Linked DNA regions of Homo sapiens: regions 1, 2, 4 and 5 are each linked to region 3. Evidence: promoter capture Hi-C in 16 types of primary human blood cells and fetal thymus (Javierre and others, 2016). All regions are on one chromosome and are shown on one strand. The core of a region is centred on a gene start or on the middle of the fragment in contact, and the rest is flanking DNA. Distances in the headings are between cores, read along the strand shown.

Region 1 (2,700 bases), core at 201-2,700, 950 kb after region 3:
TCAGGCGCGCGGTGTCCCGGACGCCCCCTCCGGCCACATCCAGGCACCGGCACGCGGCCCTCCGAGGCCCCAGACCTTCGCCGCAGCCCAAGCCATCGCCCCCCCGCCCGCCCTCCCCCATGACCGGCGCCCGGGACAGTTACCTGCTCGTCGTCCTGATGAACCCGAGCCGGAGCCCACCCCACGGCCTCTCGGGTCACTCGCCACCCAGAGGTGGCTTTTCAGAGCCTGTCAAGTGAACCCCTCTCCGCCGGGCGTATCTATTCCCCAGGCCCGATTGCACCGCAGCGACAGGAATAATAAAAAAAGCCAACAGAACCACAACCGTTGGGAATAACCAAAGGGGAGACCGCAACGGGTCCACCGATTTGGTTTCTTCCTCTGCTCCCATCCCCCGCTCCCCCCGCGGCCCGCGGGCTCACCGGGGACGCAGGGAGGGGGCTGCGCCCTGTCTAGACGACAGCCATCCACAGACATCCCCGAGCCCGCGGGGACGGGCGCGCACACTCACACACGCCCGCTGCCACAGACACAATCAGTCACCGGGGAAGGGAGGGGCGGCGTGGCGACACACTCTCGGGGTCCCTCCCGCAGCCCCGAGTGCCGCAGCCCCCGGCCCCCAAACGCCACCCCGAGACGGGCTCCCTACCTCGGCGGAGCGCGGTCTGAACAGCTGCAAGTTTGGCTGATACTAAACCAACTGCTCGATGCAGCAAATGCGGGCTTCAAAACAAAAGGGAGAGGAATCGCGCTCGCTCTTTTCCTCCTCCCAGGTCGGAACCCGGCACATGACAGCGGCTACACCGCGCAGCTCCAAAGCGAGCCGGGCTCCAGCCGTGCGTCCCCCAAGAGCCCCCCTTGGCGCCGGAGCTCCAGGGCCACGACACCCCGCGGGGCGGGGAACCCGGCAGGGAATGGGACAAACCCAGGGAGGGGGCGACACTGTGGAGTGCAGTTCCCCACCGAGGGGGAGGAGGGGATGGTAGATGGGTGCGGACACCCCGCTGGCCCAGGAGCAGGGATGGGGGGAAGGGGGCTGATTGTTTGGGGCGGTTTTCCCGGATTTATCTATAAGCACGCCCACGTCACGCAGCCCTCCTCCCGGGTCCCCGAATCGATCAGCAAGCTGAGATGACTATAAGAGGAGGACGGGCGAGGAGATGCTCACCTCGGGGTTCCTCTGGCCGCCGCGCCAAGCCCGAGTCGGGGGTGGGGGAAGGGGGCAGGGAAGGGGAAGGGAGGGACGAGGCTCCGGAGAGCCGACTCCTGCCTCGAGTTCGGAGCGTCCCAGCTGCGGAGGGGATCGGGCGCCCCAGCGCACAGACCCAGCAGAGAGGGGAGGGAGGGAGGGAAGGGAAACAGGGAGGGAGGGGCGGGTAGGGGGGAGGGAGTAGAGGAAGGAAAAAAAATGATCCCTGATCTGACACAGGGAAAGAGAATGTAGGAGAGTGACGTTCAGGCCCCGCCCTCCCCTCCGGCCACGTGCAAAGACTTGAAAGGAAAGAGGGCGGCTGGAGGCCTGCTGGGTAATGTAGTTCGCCTTTCTTTTCCAGGATGGCGGGCCCTGGAGAGCAGGGTGGCCCCAGGACGCTCGGGATGTCGCCTTAGCTGCCAAGACAGCCCAGTCTAGCGACGCCAAAACCCGCCGCCCAGCGACCCCACGGCGCTGGCGCAGCCCTGGGTGGGGGCCTCTGCGGTGGGAGAACTGGGGGCTTAGGCGCAGTCCAGGCTTACAGGGAAACGTTGGTTTTAGAGTCCGAAAGGCTTTAAGGATGAGAACGTCCGTGCCGAAAGTGCAAAGTCTGTGCTAATGGCAGATGAAAAGGAGCTTTGTGTATGCACTGGGGGGCCCAAGTGGCGTGATTAATGCTGCACTAAATGCCACCGTCGGTTATTGAGATGCATATGTTATAATTAACATTTGAGCATCTCTGTGTCGGGGGCTGGCTGTTGTAATTAGATACGCACTTTGCAACCAATTAATTTTCCTTCGGCCAAGCTAAGGGCTGGGACGGGGTGGTTGGGAGAATTCAACGTAGTGGATAATTCAGTAATGACTTAACCAGATCACCAATGTTTTGGTTAAAACTGAGCTTGGCACAGAGAGGCCTTCAGGAGAAATACTGAATAAAATACTGTATGCCCCAACAGGGAAGGGGGCTAGAAATTCATTAGAGGAACTGTGTGATGCAGTATAAACTGCTGTAGAAACCCATTTATTCATTAGTTTATATTCACATTTAGTGAGCACTTTCCACAGACCAGGTGTGTCTAGGAATGCCAAAACAGGTAAGACTCACAGTCTCTGCGCTCAAGGAGCTCAGTCCAGTATTAGGGACTACAGTCAATGAAAGTATTATACAAGGGATAAGTCAGCGCTTAACACAAAGTGCTGTGAAATTCCCCCCACCACACAACCTGGAGCAGCCAACTGGATGGAGGGTGGGTGGGGTCTGGGAGAGGGTCAGGAAGACTTCCTGGAGGAAGTGATACTTGAGCAAAGAATTTCTAAGTTTTTTTTTCTTTTTTTTTTTTTTTGGAGACTGAGTCTCTCTTTGTTGCCCTGGCTGGAGTGCAGTGGCGTGATCTTGGCTCACTGCAAGCTCTGCCTCCCTGGTTCATGCCATTCTCCTGCCTCAGCCTCCCAAGTAGCTGGGACTTCAGGCGCCCGCCACCACACCTGGCCAATTTTTTTTTTTT
Region 2 (2,700 bases), core at 180-2,679, 850 kb before region 3:
TTGTCCTCATAGTAACAATGCCTTTGGGGATACACATGGGTCCCTAGGCTCAGCCTAGCTCAACAGTCATGGTTCCATTTAACATGAGAGGGTGACTAGGTACGAGTTGTTTGAAAGATAAGGAAAGCTTTTTCTCATCCACCATAATCAGCTTGACCAATCTTATAAATAAGTTCTCTATTTGGACAACCATAATTTGGGGTCTTGAAGGGCTCTCACTGTCCCAGACAACCCTTGGAGTGTCTCCTGAGATGAGGATGGGAGCATGTCACAGAAGGGTGCTTGTTTGGGATGCAGCACATCCATGGCCTGCTCCCTGTTTTCAAGGAACTTCTAATCTAAAATGAAAACAACTGGTGTGGAGTCCTAATTAGGGAAAAGGAGTCAAGCTGGCAGTACCAAGGAAAAGCAATAAGAGAAATCAGATAAGCTATAAGTCTGCCTTTCTTCAAGCCTTGAATTGGCTATGCAGTTAAGATATCTGGAACTCTCCCTCTACATTGTGAACCATCCTCTGTGGAAGGTGATTGGACTGTGAGCATTTTTGGTTTCTATATTATTACTGCTTTAAAGTTATCACCTCAATCACGGTGGGACTGGAAAATGAGCCTCTTGTGAGCCTGTCGGGGCTAACTGAACCGCACTTCCACGTGGGGCATCCCGTCAATGAAAAGGGTTCCACTCAGCTCTGCTGAGGCACTCAGGTGCACTTTCTAACGGGGTGTCTCACCTATTAGGAAAGACCAAGGCAGCTGCTGGGCGGGAAGGATGGGTGCATAAAAGGACTATGGTGGCAGGAGGCCAGGGAGATGCCTCTCCTGAAGAATGTTGATGTCCAGACAAGTCACATGAACTACTGACCTAAGGACCTGGATTCATTTGTTAGTGCAGACCAGTTCCAACAGGCCAGACTCCTCTATCCACACTTAGGCAATTAGAGTTATTGATCCAGCCCCTGCTCGGTGCAGAGCTCCATGGAGGCAGAATAGTGAATACAATGAGCCCTGAATAGTTTACCCTTCACCCCTTAGGGGCCTCCTCTCTGTTTTCAAGGAACTTCTAATCTAAAGTGAAAACAACTGGTGTGGAGTCCTAATTAGGGAAACGGAGTCAAGCTGGCAGGACCAAAGGAAAGCAGAAAGAGAAATCAGATAAGCTATAAGTCTGCCTTTCTTCATGGTCCAGGACACATAGCCCTCCTGCGCAAATAACTCACAATCTTCCCGTGCCCAGCTATCACCAGACTCTCTACTAATAGAAAAATTCAAGTTAGCTCACTGCAATCTTGGCATTGTCAGTACTGCACAAAGCCCTCTTCAGCACACAGAAGTACCATCCTGTAAAATCCCCAGCAAGGCTTTGTTTCCTTGCTGTCAGCTCCTCTCTTGCTAATCTGCCTGTTGCACCCTTACAACATATTTTCATACTTTCTCTAACATGTCTGCTTTTCTTTACCTACAGTTGTCTTGGTAAATTCTTAACCCCATGCCACTGGCCCCAGATAGTCGCTAATCATCCGTGACATTTTGGTGGCCCATATGGGGAACTCTCTTTATGGGGAACCCTCTCCTCTCTCTCTTCCTCTTTCCCAACTTGCAATCCTCAGTGGACAGTGTCTAAACACAGAGACAGCTGTAGGTCCCTGGCTAGAGCTACACTCTGGTGGGACTGAAAGGCATCTGTGTGGAAGTGTCTGACCACCACTGCCCTTTCAGGTGAGGGACCTGAGTTTATTTTCTCTTTTCAGTCTCCCAGCAGCTGGCTTCTATTATCCCTCTGGAAATTAATGATAACTGGCCAGGGCCACTCTCCAGTGTTGCCTGAAGCCAAAGGGTGAACAGGGCTGGCTGCCTTGCCTAAAAGGGAAAAAGACTCTCCCCTTTCTTTTCTAGTAAAAAGTCCCTAATCCCTACCTGTGACATGACTGACAGTGGAAGCTCCTTAAGGGCAAATTCATACATGTTTTAGGTGACTTAGACCCTCTCCTTCTCACTCTGGATTCTCCTGTGGAGCCAAACTGTTCTGGGCATTGCTAAATCAAGTGGTCTCAAACAGCCTCAGAACAGTGAGTCTTCCTTTACCCACCCCCATCTCCTGGGCGGGCACCAGACAGACCTCTTCCTTTACCCTTTTTCCCCATAGGTGGGCTGATCACCCAGTGTAAGGCCCACAGGCAACTGAGAGGTCTTTCCTAATAGGTGAGACACCCCGTTAGAAAGTGCACTTGAGTCCCTCAGCAGACCTGAGTGGAACCCTTTTCATTGACGGGATGCCCCACGTGGAAGTGCGGTTCAGTTAGCCCCGACAGGCTCACGAGAGGCTCATTTTCCAGTCCTACCATGAGACAAACCCCGTCTATTTCTTCAGATTCACCTCTGGGTTGCGTCCTAAAACATTAAGAGAAATTTAACCCTGAGACTCTCAAAAAGAAATGTCTATTTTTCTTGTGTACTACAGCATGGCTCCTATGCAGAAAATCCTCTAATTAGCCTCCTCAGTCTTTTATAACCAAGAGTAGAACAGGGTTAGAAAGAAAAAAACAAATGCAGAGGCAAAACACAGACTCAACTGTTGGCTGCTTTACAAGCACCAGCCCCTTCCAGGTTTCCCTAAGAACACTCTTCCAGGTTACTGCCATCGGTACAGAAGGCCAGGCCACTGAAAAGCAAACTGCCCCAATAAAAGAAATGGAAAAAGCCC
Region 3 (2,700 bases), core at 154-2,653:
AATAAGCTGAAGTCCTCCAAGATGTACTGTGGTTTTCTCTAAGAAACTTAACACATTTTTCTTTCCCCAGATATCCCAGAAGAAACTGAAGAAACAAAAACTTATGGCACGGGAGTAAATTCAGCATTAAAATAAATGTAATTAAAAGGAAAAGAATGTTGGTTGTCTTTATTAGTGAACATATTTCAAGTGTCCTTACAAGATGGATCAAATGAGGATTTTTTAGGATTAGAACTAGAAACACAAGATTGTTTACCCTGCACCATTAAAAACCATTTTCATGGCTGGGCACAGTGGCTCATTTCTGTAGTCCCAGCACTTTGGGAGGTGGAGGCTGACTGCTTAAGCCCAGCCAGGGCAACATGTCAGAACCCTGTCTGTTAAAAAAAAGTAAGTGTGGTGTCACTTGCATGTAGTCCCAGCTAATTGGGGGGCTGAGGTGGGAGGCTGCAGTGAGCACTACTGCACCCCAGCGTGGGCAAGACAGAACAAGACCCTGTCTCAAAAAAAGTTTCATTATCCCAAAAGGAATTTGCAGTGGTTTTCTTTGCAGAACAATCCAGTATGTGAATATACCAGTTGATCATCCCCAGTTGGAAATGGCTCCATTGAGCATTGCCTTTGAGTATGATAACAGCACTCAGGCTCAGGTTTTGAAGCTTTTTAGGTTGATGCTCAACCTGTATCATTTCGTCAATTGATAAAGGGGTTTTGTTTTTGCTATTAGGAACGATGGTACTGTGAACGTTTGTGTGCAGATTTTTGTGTTTTCATTTATTGAGTATATACTAGAGTGGAATTGCTAGATCATAAGGTTACCTGAGTAAACATCTGAGGAACTTCCAAATATTTCCAAAAAGGCTGCACGCTACATTTCCACCAACGGTTTATGAGGGTCCCAGTTTTCACACAACTTCGCCAACACGTACTGACATCCTAGCGAGCGTCAGTACTTTTCGTTTATAAAGTGATGTAACTGCTTCTTTTAAGCAACTGACGTTTGTAAAGTTGGCCTTAATGTTAGTTTGCTCTGCCCTTGAATTTAAGAAACCAGCAAAACTAATAGCTTATCCACAGTTGCCTCAACGGCCTAGCTGCCACCTTCCGTGTGGGTGCCGCGCCGTTTGCACAGGCATCATCCTTTACCGAGATCCTGCGTTCTGGGTCTGGGTGTAGTCAGGTCAGGCTTTCTTCCCGCAGCGAAGCTTTTAGTTGGGCATCTGGGACGCGCAGGACTTTCGCGCTACCTGCAGGCCGCAGAGCCGGAAGCCTCGCCGCGCCCCTTGGGCAACACTGCTGCGTGCTGTGCGACCCCGGGTTGACGCAAGCGCGCCTTTGTCGTCCCCGTTGAAGGCGCCCATTGGCTCGGCTGCGGATCGTCCCTCCCTCCGGAAGTGCGGACATTGTCAGCTGCGTTTCCGCGGTCGCGGGTGAGTGTGCCCGGGCTAGCGGCCTGGGTTGGGCTTTGTAGCTGCTCCGCAGGCCCAGCCCGGGCCGCGCTCGCAGAGTCCTAGGCGGTGCGCGGCCTCCTGCCTCCTCCCTCCTCGGCGGTCGCGGCCCGCCGGCCTCCGCGGTGCCTGCCTTCGCTCTCAGGGTACCTTCCTTCCGCGAGCGCGCTCCTCCGCCCTCCGCCCCGCCCTCCCCTCCCCTCTGTCTGTATTCTTTGTCCACCACCGGCGCCCTCGGAGCTTGCATTTGCCTCTCCGATACTTTATATTGATTTTGTTCTTTTCCGTGGCCAAGTATCGGTTTCACATCCTTTCTATGACCTTCACCGTTAGGCCTCTGTTCTCGTCTCTTTTCAATCATTGTCATTGACTCAACCTGTCCCCGCTCCCTCTGTCTCCACTAAGATGACATGCTCAACTGGATGACTTGGAGGAAGGTGACTTTCCCTGTTATGCCTTCCCTATTTCGGATGGAGCCTCAGACTTTAACTGTCTACTCTGTTGTCTGGACTTAAGTTGAGTGAAAGAAGATTCCTCTGCAACAGCTTTAATCCGTTTTGCTCGCTTTGTTGGCTTGGAGCGAATAATTAAAATAATAATATCTCGTAGCCACCTTCTAGACTTTTCTGACCCAGTTTCCATATGTGTGAAGTAAAATATCTTACCGAAGTATTATTATGAAGATTAAAAGATAAGATACAAATAGGCTTCATTCCGAAGAGAGCTAAAAAGTCTCTTAAAAGCCGTAATTGTGGCGTAAGTGATTAGTAGTATTTGTCCTCGAGAGTTTATGTACATCGTACTGTGTGCGAACTTACTTAAAACACAATTGCAGAAGTAAAAATGAATCTTTATGATGGAGGGCCTGTCAGTCACTAAACTAGTACTGGTAGCATTGTCAGTTGTTTTGAAGGGGTTTCGTTGGTTTGGAAAGTTTGGTAAAAGTTTGGTAAAAACATGACCATTGTGTTTTTGGAAGAGGAAAAGGCAAGAGCATTGAGGAAAACCAGAACTGGAAATAATGGTCTTAGAAGCTCTAGTTACCAGTTACCTCTGTGAGAACTTTGGACAGGTTACAACTTTTGGATTTTTTTTTTTTTTTAATCTTGAGACAGGGTCTGCCTCTGTGGCCCAGGCTGGAGTCCAGTGGGCCATCATAGCTCACGGCAGTTTCGGCTTTCCTGGGCGCAAGCGGTTCTCTCCTTCCTCAGCTCCCCAAATACCTGGGACTACAGGCGCGTGCCATCACACC
Region 4 (2,700 bases), core at 189-2,688, 820 kb after region 3:
GCCAGGACTTTAAGTTTTCAACTCTTGCTGATAATCAGAATTTCCTACAATGCTTTAAAAATGCAGATTCTAGCTGGACACAGTGGCTTATTAAAAAAGCCCACAATGACCTTCGAGAGATAAAAACTACAATGTCTGAAATGAAAAATATACTGAATGGGATTAACAGTAGATTTGACACTGGAATAAAATATTAGTGAACTTGAAGAAATAGCAATAAAAGCTATCCAAAATGAAACACAGAGAGTAAAGAAAGACTTTAAAAAATCAGGCAGAGCTTTGGTGAGCCATGGGAAAAGATGAAGAAGCATAGAATACATACAATTGGAACCCCAGGGTTGAGGGAAAGTAGGAGGAATCGTGGCTGAAAATTTTCCAAATTTGATGAAACTATAAACCTACAGATCCAAGAAACTCAATAAATCCCAAGTGGGAGAAACATGAAGAAAACCACCACACCAAGGCACATCATAATCAAATAGATGAGGTCTTAACTGTATGCTCTATTGTCTCTCATTGATAGGCCCAAGGCATGAACAGAGAAGAAACAAAATGGCAAAGGCACCAGGAAGAGATGAATGGATATAGATAAAATAGCAGGAGAAGAATCAGGAGAGAAGGGAAGGGTGGCACAGTGGAGTGTGGTGGTAGGTCATGGTCACTGGCAGCGGCAGACTCAGTCACTGTGGAAGGTCCACTGCTTTTACACCCCTGCAGCAGGCCCAGTCACACTCCTGAGAGCAGCTAGACTCCTGCTGTTTCCACCAAAAGTCCAGCACTATAAGTATCTAGAGACCTGGATTCACTGAGTGAATCCTCTTTGTCCTGGAACCTGGCCTGATTCCAGGAAAGAGGCCCAATCAATAAAAAAAAGAGCAAGCATAGCAGACACCTGGAGGCCAGCAGGGCAAGTCCACTGTTCAAAAGCCTAAAGACAGCCCCAGCCACATTAGAATCTCTTCCAGGCCTGCCAGTCCCACCTGAACACACCACAGGACACTTCACCTGCAGAGAGGTTTCAGGCCAAGGGACAAAAACTTCCAAGTTCACTGAGTTGCCAGGGCATGGTCTATTTCATCTCTAGGGCACATCAGGCCTGCCAGCAGGGCCTGCAGCATCACCGAGTAGGCTGTCACACACACGATCACAATGGGACACCCTGGAGAATGGCAGGTAGCCAGCCCTGCCTATTACTACCATACAGGCGGTTACACTCCTTGCTGGAACAAGCAGCCAGAAGGAGTGCTTTGGTTAGGTCCTGTCCAGGAAGAGGATCAGGACTCCAGGGGTGGGGGTGGGCTGTTAGAGAGCCTGCCCCTGCACCTACCTGCCAGGCTGGAAGGACCTTCTCGATGTCATTCAGGTTGATGCCATCCCCATCTTCCAGCTTCCCTTTGCCACACCTGGACCAGAAAAGACAGAAAGGCATTGGAAAGATGGCTCATTCATGCCTCCTGTCCCATCCGGCCAGCAGGAGAGGAGGGACAGTCAGCAGATACCTGGTGCTGCCCACCCTCAAGCCCTGCAGGGGCTGTCCCACCTAGAGGAAACAGCCCTAGAGAAGCTGTGTGTGTGTGGGGGGGGGGTCCTCCCGTAATGCAACAGCCAACCTGGAGGGAGGTGGGAGAGGAACCAGAGTTCCCCTTGCTCCTTCCAGGCAGAGAAGCTAAGCTCCTTACTCATCACAACTCCTGTCAAAGCCCATCCACCTTGCCCCATTACACTGAACAGAAGATCAGTGGACAGAGACACCAAGCAACTTTCTCAAGGTCACATAGGCTGGCAGGGGCTAGCAGAAAACCCAATAGGGCTTCCTTCCTTTTTGGCTTGACTCTGGGTCAGTCCAGCAAGCCCACTCAGATAGTCTATGCTTTGTCTTCATGTCCTCTGTGAGTGGGCGTGCCCTCGGGCCAGAGAGGCTGGCCCCAACTCCCTGGCCAGAGGTCTGAATCTTTGGCATATTTAAGGGTGCAGATTCCGAAACCAGACTCCCAGGGTTTGAATCCCCGCTGCATCCCTTACCAACTGGGGACCCTGTACAAGTTGTTTAACCTCTCTGTACTCATTTCATCAAATGAGTTTCCTCATTTGTTAAATGAGGATAATAGTGTCTAACATCTTAAGGTGGCTGGAGGATTAAATTAATGAATGTATCTGGAGTGCTTAGATGCTTAGAACTGTGACAGCCCACAGTAAACGGTACATATATACACACATATATAGTCTAGCTTATATATATATATATATATATATATATATATATATATATATATATATAAATGTTTAGCTTGTTTGTTTATAAATGTGTGTGTGTATATTTCTTGTGTATGTATTATTATCTGTATTTACCATTAAATATATCTTAAACATACACACATATGTTTAATGGTAAATACTGGTAATAATAACAAAATTAAAATAAATAATGAAGTAAATATATTGCTACTACTATGACTACTTTCATTACCACTAATATTGTTGCTGTTGTTTAGGCAAAGAGGCAGGAGGGTGATTAATTAAGGACACAGATTCTGGAGCCAACCCAGCCTCATGCAAATTACTCAATTTCTGGGTCTCCTAGTTGCTTCATCTATTGAAGAGAAGATGGTAACAGTTCCTCCCTCTCTGGGTGGTGGCGAGTTTTAAATAAATGAGGCAAACACTTAGAACAGAGGCTGGAGCATGGCCGGTGCATAGTAA
Region 5 (2,700 bases), core at 130-2,629, 550 kb after region 3:
TAAAAACAGAAATTCCAGCAGAGTTTTGGGCATTTGGCATTTCCTTGCCTGTAGGATCACGTGGTAGCAGCTCGAATAGAAGCTGTGCCCTGTTGTGGTGTATCCTCTTGTGTGAGGGGCACCCTTTTTTGTGGGGTACCTGCTCTGACTACTTGGTGGTGTGTCTTCCATGGCTGGCTCAGGCAAAGTTCATTCCCGGACGGCTCCCTCCCCGGCTCTCCTCTTCAGGAACTGAGCTTGCTGAGAACGTCTTTAGGGAGACCCTTGTTTGTTTTCATTTCAATGCAATATATACTCTGTTATCTGAGACTGAGGGTATTGTTTACTCAAAGCTTCTAATGAGAATTGAGCAGGAAAAAGAGGGACCTAGAGAAGGGAGGGGGCTTCAGGCAGTACGGTGGGAGTGGACAGAGGAGTTGAGGAGGGAGAAAAGGCAGCAGTGTGTGAACTGCATCTTTTCTGCTTTCTAAGGCTGAGAGAGTTCTTGAAAGAAAGAAGGCCAATGAGAGGAAAGGGTCTCAGCAGAATAACACGCTCAGGATGTTGTTAGATGGTTTTATTTTTTAAACCCTGAATGTGCAGGGAGGAGCCCCGGCCCCTCCAAACCACATGAAATAAGCAAGGGAAGTGGCAGCTTTTGAAAGGGTCCTTTCGGAAGGTTTGTCTTCTTGATAACATCTTGTCTGTCTCCCCTGCCGGAGGAAATGACGACACCAGGCTGAGATACCAGCCTGAGTGCCTCCTCACCCGCCCGTGCCATGTGACCTGTGAAGCCCTCAGGAGATGGGTGGGCTTTTTTTTTTTTTTCTTTTTTGACAAAGTCTCGCTCTGTCGCCCAGGCTGGAGTGCAGTGGCGCGATTTCGGCTCACACAGACGGAGTCTCGCTCTGTCACCAGGCTGGAGTGCAGTGGCCCGATTTCGGCTCACTGCAACCTCCACCTCCCAGGTTCAAGCAATTCTCCTGCCTCAGCCTCCCAAGTAGCTGGGATTACAGGCATCCACCACTGTGCCCAGCTAATTTTTTGTATTTTTAGTAGAGATGGGGTTTCGCCATGTTGGCCAGGCTGGTCTTGAACTCCTGACCTCGGATGATCCACCCACCCTTTCCTCCCCAAGTGCTGAGATTACAGGTGTGAGCCACTGCGCCTGGCCGATGGGTGGGCTTTTTTTCCCCAAAGCTCTTCCAGTCCTAGAAAGAAACTGGGGGTAAAACAATCATTAACTCCTTCCCCTCACCCCTCCAGGTAATTGTAGACACAGATATTAATAAGGAGCTGCCAGGAAGAAGCAGTGACTCTCTGAAGGGCAGTGTGGCTTCAGAAGACTGCAGAGAGAAGAGGGGGCCTTCCACATGGCAAGAGCATTTGTTTTGAATTTCAGCTCTTGATTTACTAATTCCAAAGGCTTCAAAGTTTGAGCTCCTTCTTCTTTCCGTTCAGAGTTGGTGCAGTGTATTCATAATGGGCCATGGTGGGGAGGGTACACTGTTTTGGGGGTTGATGTCACCGGCTTGGGGGCGTCTGGAGGGGAGGTGATGGGCACGGAGAAAACCTAGGGCTGTCCTCTTTGTAGCGAGAATGCCTTCCAAAAGGGAACTTTATTGGCCCCTGTCCAGGGCAGAGAGTTTTGTAAATGGAGAAAGCCCAAACCTCCTCCTTTTCAAGAAGTTGATCGTTCCATGGGGGGTGGCCTGGGTGTGTCTGCCTTGCTGTGGATGAGGCCAGTGACTGGATGTGGCAGGGCTGGATGGGGGAAGGGGCATAGCAGACACTGAGGTTGGGGGGTGGGAGCCTGGCAGCAAGGTGGGGAGCAGTGAAAACTGAGGAGTTTCTCCCTCCTCCTCCTTGAAATAACCTCTCTGAGCCTCTTTCACAGGCCCTGTGTGCTGTTTTCCTTCCTGTCCTGCCCTGGCTGAGAGCGGGCTTAATGAATGGGGCTCAGTTTAGGGTGGGAGGAAGGTCGGCAGCAGGAGCCAGGGCTTGATTCTCTTGGCAAGGGAAGAAGGGAAAGAAAAAACAGCCGAATGTGAAAATGTGGTGCCTCGGAGGTGGGGGTGGGGTGTGCTCAAAGGCCGGTCCTCTCCTGAAATGCAGGGGTGACTCCAAGGCTGGCCCTTCCCTTTCCTGCGCCCTTGCAAACTGCCCGGGAGGAAGGGGAGTGGGCGGGTAGGAGCCCGGGGGCGGGGCTGCTGGCTGCAGGTTGGAATTCCAGCATTGCAGCTTTGTTTTGGGGGGGTGTGGGGGGGTGGGTAGACGACAGGCCTGGTCGTTAGGGACTTGCAGTGAAACACACCCCACCCTTGCAAGTTTCCTCGGTCTGGGAAAATGGGACATTTTTAGAAGGCAGTGACTTGCTTCCAGGAGATTGTACTTTCATTTTTGACAGCTGGCTCTCTGAGACAGATGGATTGCTGGGTGCAAGCTTGTGTGTGTATGCGTGTGTGTGTGTTGTGGGGGTGGGTGTGTGGGTGGGTGGGTTTTGCCGCAGACGTACAGATAGACAATCCCGTGCGCAAACACATGAGAGCGTGCGGATGCCCACAGGCAGGCTCTGGGATAGGGTGGGTCCCTGTCGCTGGGGTGGGTTGATGTCAGGGCGGCCTCTCCAAGAGGTTGTGGACTTGTGGGGTGGAGTTTGTGGATTGATTCTGCTTTGTGATTTGGCAGTCTGTGCCTGACTCTCTGGGATGGGTGTCTTTT

Evidence for each region. Contacts are between HindIII fragments. The CHiCAGO score rates a contact against its expected background, and 5 or more counts as called.
Region 1: a contact is called between the fragment with the promoter of CTIF here and the fragment with the promoter of C18orf32 in region 3, in 10 of 17 cell types (total CD4 T cells, monocytes, total B cells and 7 more). The highest score is 12.3, in total CD4 T cells.
Region 2: a contact is called between a fragment that was not itself captured here and the fragment with the promoter of C18orf32 in region 3, in 1 of 17 cell types (total B cells). The highest score is 5.8, in total B cells.
Region 4: a fragment that was not itself captured here is called in contact with the fragment with the promoter of C18orf32 in region 3 in 1 of 17 cell types (fetal thymus); the score reaches 7.2 in fetal thymus.
Region 5: a fragment that was not itself captured here is called in contact with the fragment with the promoter of C18orf32 in region 3 in 1 of 17 cell types (fetal thymus); the score reaches 5.4 in fetal thymus.

What each region holds. Positions count from the first base shown.
Region 1 is chr18:48,537,781-48,540,480 of GRCh38, reverse strand. It overlaps CTIF (cap binding complex dependent translation initiation factor), which reads right to left and starts at 1,450. Exons shown (of 12, transcript NM_014772.3): 1 at 1,169-1,450. RefSeq lists silencers at 405-764, 1,265-1,344. The HindIII fragment of the contact is 7,178 bases long and covers 1-2,700 here.
Region 2 is chr18:50,337,197-50,339,896 of GRCh38, reverse strand. No RefSeq gene overlaps it. Among named protein-coding and RNA genes, the nearest start is that of SKA1, 36 kb to the left of the region's middle. The HindIII fragment of the contact is 2,599 bases long and covers 130-2,700 here.
Region 3 is chr18:49,485,937-49,488,636 of GRCh38, reverse strand. It overlaps C18orf32 (chromosome 18 open reading frame 32), which reads left to right and starts at 1,403. Exons shown (of 3, transcript NM_001035005.4): 1 at 1,403-1,594. The region is part of intron 5 of RPL17-C18orf32 (RPL17-C18orf32 readthrough); the gene reads left to right. It overlaps RPL17 (ribosomal protein L17), which reads left to right. Exons shown (of 7, transcript NM_001035006.5): 7 at 71-156. The coding sequence ends at 118. MIR1539 (microRNA 1539) reads right to left here and starts at 1,264; the gene lies at 1,215-1,264. RefSeq lists an enhancer at 1,345-1,504 and a silencer at 1,545-1,674. The HindIII fragment of the contact is 3,674 bases long and covers 1,208-2,700 here.
Region 4 is chr18:48,669,372-48,672,071 of GRCh38, reverse strand. CTIF (cap binding complex dependent translation initiation factor) reads right to left here. Exons shown (of 12, transcript NM_014772.3): 6 at 1,328-1,403. It overlaps MIR4743 (microRNA 4743), which reads right to left and starts at 1,472; the gene lies at 1,404-1,472. The HindIII fragment of the contact is 6,169 bases long and covers 1-2,700 here.
Region 5 is chr18:48,938,922-48,941,621 of GRCh38, reverse strand. The region is part of intron 3 of SMAD7 (SMAD family member 7); the gene reads left to right. Among named protein-coding and RNA genes, the nearest start is that of SMAD7, 11 kb to the left of the region's middle. RefSeq lists an enhancer at 1-171. The HindIII fragment of the contact is 2,090 bases long and covers 335-2,424 here.